2 separate regions of the Homo sapiens genome follow, and region 2 is linked to region 1. Evidence: promoter capture Hi-C in 16 types of primary human blood cells and fetal thymus (Javierre and others, 2016). All regions are on one chromosome and are shown on one strand. The core of a region is centred on a gene start or on the middle of the fragment in contact, and the rest is flanking DNA. Distances in the headings are between cores, read along the strand shown. Region 1 holds the start of SELENOK (selenoprotein K). Region 2 holds the start of GBE1 (1,4-alpha-glucan branching enzyme 1).

Evidence for each region. The method cuts DNA at HindIII sites, captures the fragments that hold promoters and counts their contacts. A CHiCAGO score of 5 or more calls a contact.
Region 2: a contact is called between the fragment with the promoter of GBE1 here and the fragment with the promoter of SELENOK in region 1, in 1 of 17 cell types (total CD4 T cells). The highest score is 6.6, in total CD4 T cells.

What each region holds. Positions count from the first base shown.
Region 1 is chr3:53,890,422-53,893,121 of GRCh38, forward strand. It overlaps SELENOK (selenoprotein K), which reads right to left and starts at 1,438. Exons shown (of 5, transcript NM_021237.5): 1 at 1,349-1,438. The coding sequence starts at 1,367. RefSeq lists enhancers at 626-1,526, 1,417-1,716. The HindIII fragment of the contact is 7,183 bases long and covers 738-2,700 here.
Region 2 is chr3:81,760,393-81,763,092 of GRCh38, forward strand. GBE1 (1,4-alpha-glucan branching enzyme 1) reads right to left here and starts at 1,253. Exons shown (of 16, transcript NM_000158.4): 1 at 983-1,253. The coding sequence starts at 1,125. RefSeq lists enhancers at 532-701, 1,042-1,331, 1,118-1,726 and silencers at 802-881, 1,382-1,481. The HindIII fragment of the contact is 5,689 bases long and covers 1-1,954 here.

The DNA.
Region 1 (2,700 bases), core at 188-2,687:
TAAGGCAGAATGTCCCTTCCACCAATATCCCCAGAGAGAAGTAAGGTGTTTGAATGCAGTTGTGTTTCTCAACTTTTAAAGTACGATAAAGAGTCCTAATCGGCTACTTATGTGGACCAAATGAAATAATGCGAACACAGTAAGACACAACAAATACAAGGAATTATTCAATAATTCATACAGAAGCTTCCAGCCTTAAGCTTATATCACAAAGGCTATAAAACAGGCTATAAAACAGACTAAAGTCTGAAAGCGCCCAAAACTAAGATGAAATTTTGATGCTTTTCTGTAGTGTCCATCAATCTACTTGTTTCAAAGATTTTTAAGTGGGAGATGAGAAGGGGAGATTTTTAAAAGTCAAGAAATGCAAAAGTGCAGTCAGCCAGAAGGCTCCTCACTGACTACCTTACTCGTCTCTGGAGAAAAACAGATGACTCAAATAGAACCAAGACCTAGTTCCAATGATCCACAACTCCTTGTTAAGACTGTACCAAAGAATTTCACCTGAGTCAAACAGGTGGGCAGGCAGCTCTAGCACTGATCTGACACAGTCATGTCCTTCCTTTCCGGTCATCTTCTTTGTGGGTTCGCAGAATTAAGTCTCTCGGATTCTCCATTCCGGTAATAATTAACTTGCTCCTAGGGGAAGATAGTACTTCTTCCCATGCCCCTTGAAATTCGAGCAAAAAATTCCATGTTTGACTAGCTACCCTTTCCTGGGGAAAAAGCCTATGCAAAGCTTTCATCTAATTATCATCCTAGGTCGGCTCGGTCTTTTTACACGTTGTAGACAGAGGCAGCATAACAGATAACAAGGACGCTGACGTCAGCCTACCTGTGATCGAATCCCGACTCAGCCATTAAGTTACCTCTGTGACTTAAATAGCCCAGGCAAGCTATTTAATCTATCTGAGCCTCAGAGTTTCCACCCGTAAAACAGGATTGAATGTGACGATAAGCAAATAACTGAAACACTGTCCAGGGCACAAGCGCTACGTGTACAGCGTCGGCATCATTGTCCTTACTAGTTTTAAGGATACCGACACCCGAGAGAGGAAAGACCACCCTCGCAAATCCACAATCAAGCGCTTGCTGCACGAAGGCGGGGTTGCAGGGCTCCCAGTACTCAACGTGAGGCCGGCGGGACCTCGGCCCCCGACTGCCGGCTCAGAGACCATCGGCTGACGCGCCGCAAGCCGAGGCGACTTCGGTCCAGCTCCGCCCGGCCGCGGGGCGCTAAGCCCGGGGAAGCCGCACCGGGCTCAAGACTCAGCGAGCGACGATGAAAGGAACCTGGAGTCCGATCTTACAAGTCACCGGTCGAAGCCACAGCCCGCTCTCAACTTACCGTTCGAGATGTAAACCATCTTGTCCCACTTCCCCGCTTCGGAGCCACCGGGCGCCTGGCCCCTGTCGGTTTCTGTATCTCCCTCTGCTCCCCGCCCTTCGAGCGTCACAGGCCGCGATTAGACAAAATGCTGACGAGGACGAAGGTGGGCAGAGCCCATTGGCTGCTGAAAGAGACGCGCCCCCGACGGGCGTTTTTGCATCGTCACATCTGCGACTTCTGGTTAGGCGGAGGCGGCCGAGCTGACAACCGGATATGACGTTAAGGACTGCCCTGTAGTGCCCGCGGTTGCCAGTCCTCTATCCGACTTGATCGTGCAGAGTTGGTTCGCACCGCCCAGTGAGGGGAAGCTGTTTTCTCGTCGATTGATAGGCTCCGGGTCTGGGTAGGAGAGGCTGCCCTGTATGAGGTAGCTTGAAGGGCCGCTGACAGGAGGAAACGCTTCCGAATTTTCCAGACGTGTTGACGTTTGAGGGTGCTGACTACACGTTAAGGAACTTTATTGTCACGCCTTTGGGAATATACTGCCAGGCTCTTCCTAGATATATTCATTCTCTTTAAAATGAGCATGTCTACCTGGGTTCACCAGAAACTAAGTTTTTCTTAGCCTTTTGTGAGGCAACTGAAAAATAAATTGAACTGTAGGCCCTTTCTCTGCTTGTTTCTTATTGATGGCGACTGCTTATGACCACTTTGGTGACAGACGAATTAGAAGACATGTCTTGGACATTCAGTAAATGTGGACCACATACCATGGATATTTACTCTGCTACAGCCAGTGGGCTGCCTCTGTTCCTTGAACGTGGCCATTTCATTCCCTTCTCAAGGCCTCTGCACTTAGCTATTCTTTCAGCGTGGAGACCTAATGGCTGCTTCCTTTGACTTCCCGCCCCCAGTTCTCAAGCCATGTGTCATCTCTTTGGAAAGATTCCTAATCACCTTCCAGAAAATGAAAATTACATGCTGAAAATCTATTTTGAGTTTAACAACTTTGGTTAAGATTTTATGTTCTAATACTTAGAACTGACAAAGATCTAATTTTATGTTGATTTTGGAGAGAGCATTTTCCCCAGAAAAGTTCATAATAGGACAAGACAACATCCTTCACCTCATTTGGGATTTGTGCAGCACAATCATAAAGGATCATTTCTGCAAAAATATTAGGGCAGGGCCGTTAATTTTCCCAAGGGCCTTTCTTAATCTAGACCATGCCACCATCATCTCTCACCTGCTCTACGCTAGTTTCCTTCTAAATGAAATCTCAGGTTCAGTCTTTTACCATCCTTAGGCAGTTTTACAAACTGTAGCAAGATCGATCTTAAAACGGAGATCATCTCGTTCCCTTGCCTAAA
Region 2 (2,700 bases), core at 3-2,502, about 28 Mb after region 1:
AACGCTCCTTCATGCCAGTTAACTAGTTGGATGTTTTCCATCACTCGAAAAATTGGCCATGTATATTCTGTTGCCAGGATAGTTTCCATTCTGCAGTGTCTCTCCTAAAAGGGGAGAAACTATTAAATCAAAATGGGGTAACCTCACAAGTATAACTATTACAACTTGTATAATAGCTCTTTTACTTCAAACAACAACGACAACAGAAAAAGACCTGTACCTTTTTAGTGGAACTTATGAATAGAATTATTAGCCCAGTAACTAAAGTTGTATGGTACACAATGGTAGAAGACAAGCTAAAACGACATTGGCCTGTAAAAGTTGCTTTCCTGACCTTTCTCCCTCTTCAAGATGGTTAAAGTCACACACGGACAAATGTTGATGTACATTTAACTTCTCAATGTTGATCCAAGGGGAGAAAAAATTGATCAATGTAGGTGTAATCTTCCCCTAAATGAGGAATATTAGCAAGGAAAAAACAAAAGGATATAGTGTCTGCCTGAAGGAATCCTCTTAGATATAAAATCACAACATTTGCTATGAAATAAACTAGAAAGTTTTAAATGCGTAATTACACGTGCCAGGAGTTATGCCCACGTTACTCCACAGGCCCACGCTAGTGGGTGCCAAAGTCAGAAAACCTGCAGCGGCGGTGAGTCACTCCCCAGCAGCACTCTGGGGAATAAGTGTTGGAGCCACAGCACGTACCCTATGGCGCAAGACCGCTGATTAGAACAGAGGGGAAAGGGGATGAGGAAAGAAGTTTCTTCAGCGCCCGCTCCGGGCACCAGCGCTGTCAAACCTGCCACTACGGAAGCCACAGAACCCGGTTACCCGAGTCACCCCGAGCCCCGCCCACTCAGGTTCCTCCCCGCCTGGGGCGGGGTTGGCGCGCGAGGGCCGAGGGGCGGCCCGTGTCCCGAGACGGCTCCTGGGAGGCGGGCTGCCTGTCTAAGTGGGGGTGGTGGGATTCCGGCGGTACCTGCGCTGGAAGTCCACGGCGTAGGGCTTCAAGTACGGGTCGATCTCCAGGAGTCTGGCCAGTTCGGGCACGTCAGCCAGGGCGGCATTGAGCGCCGCCTCGTAGTCCTCGGGCCGAGCCGCGGGAGTCATCGGAGCCGCCATATTCCGCCGCAGTCCAAGTAGCCGAGGCCCGAGAGGTCGAGTGGGGCCTGAGCGGGCGCTGGAGCTCTAGCTGGGACGCGGCGGCTAGGGCGGAGCCGGAGGGCGCCTAGGCGTGTCGAGGCAAGCCGAGGCGAGCCGCGGCGGTCCGGGGCCCTTTATAGCCGGGACGGAAGGCCTCCTGCCCTTTCTCCCCCCGCCAGCGGGGAGGAGCGGATCCCGGGGTGATGCCGGGACGCACGTCCGGAGCGGGTAGGAGGCACCGAGGCCTCTCCGCCCACTCACGCGGCTGGCACCTGGAGGCCGCAGGGACCTGCCCTTTCCTCCCCTTAACGGTTTTTTCCTGCTGGCGGAGGTCATTCTAGGAGGTGGGTCCCAAGCTGACCTCGCTCAGCCTTGGCCTTCCTCACCCTGACATATTCTTGGCTTTTCTTTACCCACTTAAGCACCCACTGACAGCGACCCCTTCAAATTGGACATAAGGGGTTTTTTTGGAAAGGACCGTATTTCTCAAAGTTCTGAGACTTTTGAGGGGCAGTATTTCAAACATATCATGTAAATTCACAGAGAGGGGAACAGTCAAGTGTAGCTAGAGTACTACTGCTGAAAATGTTAATACCTCTTACAACCAGGACTCTCCTAAGTTTGCCAGGTCACGTGAATTTAAAATTAACCAAGACACAGAATCCTGGAATACCGTTGGAATTCTGCTGTTCTGGTACTCTTTTCTGCATTACCAACAGCTAAGAATTTTAGCCATGGGAAGAACTTTTCTCATTCTCCGTAAGGCCAAAAAGGAAAAGGCATTTGCCTGTGTTTATAATTGTTAACAAGCTTTTCAACGATTAAACTACCTTTGATAACACAAATGATATCATTGAATTGGAACTCCACTCTGCCACTTACAGTGATAAGGCAAGAAACCTCTCTTCCTCTTGGCTTGGGAAGCTCCCACTTGGAATTCCCTTCTTTTATTGCCATTAACTGACTAGCTTCTATTTCAATAATTGCTTTTTAGGAATACAGAGTTGGACTCCAAGAGAGATGGACCCACCAAACCCAGGAGGGTCCAAGCTGCTTTACACCTAGAAACTAGAGAGGATTGAGGATATTTTTCTTGTTAAAACCCAGAACTGGAGGATCCTAGGGGTTATGGAGGAGAAACAGTATTAATCAGCCGTGGGCCTTGAATTTTAAAATATTTCAAAGGAAAGTTTTTATAAGGGGTTTCATAGACTTGAAAGATAAGTGGATATGAAGACAGACCTCAGTGTGAAAAAGTGAAGGACTTGAACGACTTTAAGACGTGCCTTGTTTTCCATAAAGATGACAAAAAACTGCTGCAGACATTTGTAAAATATAAAGCACTAAAAAAGGAAGAAAATTAAAAAAAAATAAAAACCCGAAGCAGGACAACTATTAATAACAGACCCACAGATCTACATCTCCAAGCCTAAACTTTTTTCAGAAACCCAGGCTTGTATCACTGCCTGTCTACTGAGATTTCCATTTAGCTGGCTAGGAGACCTAAACAAACTGTCTGCAAAACGTGACCTAGAATCCGTCTTCTCATCCTTC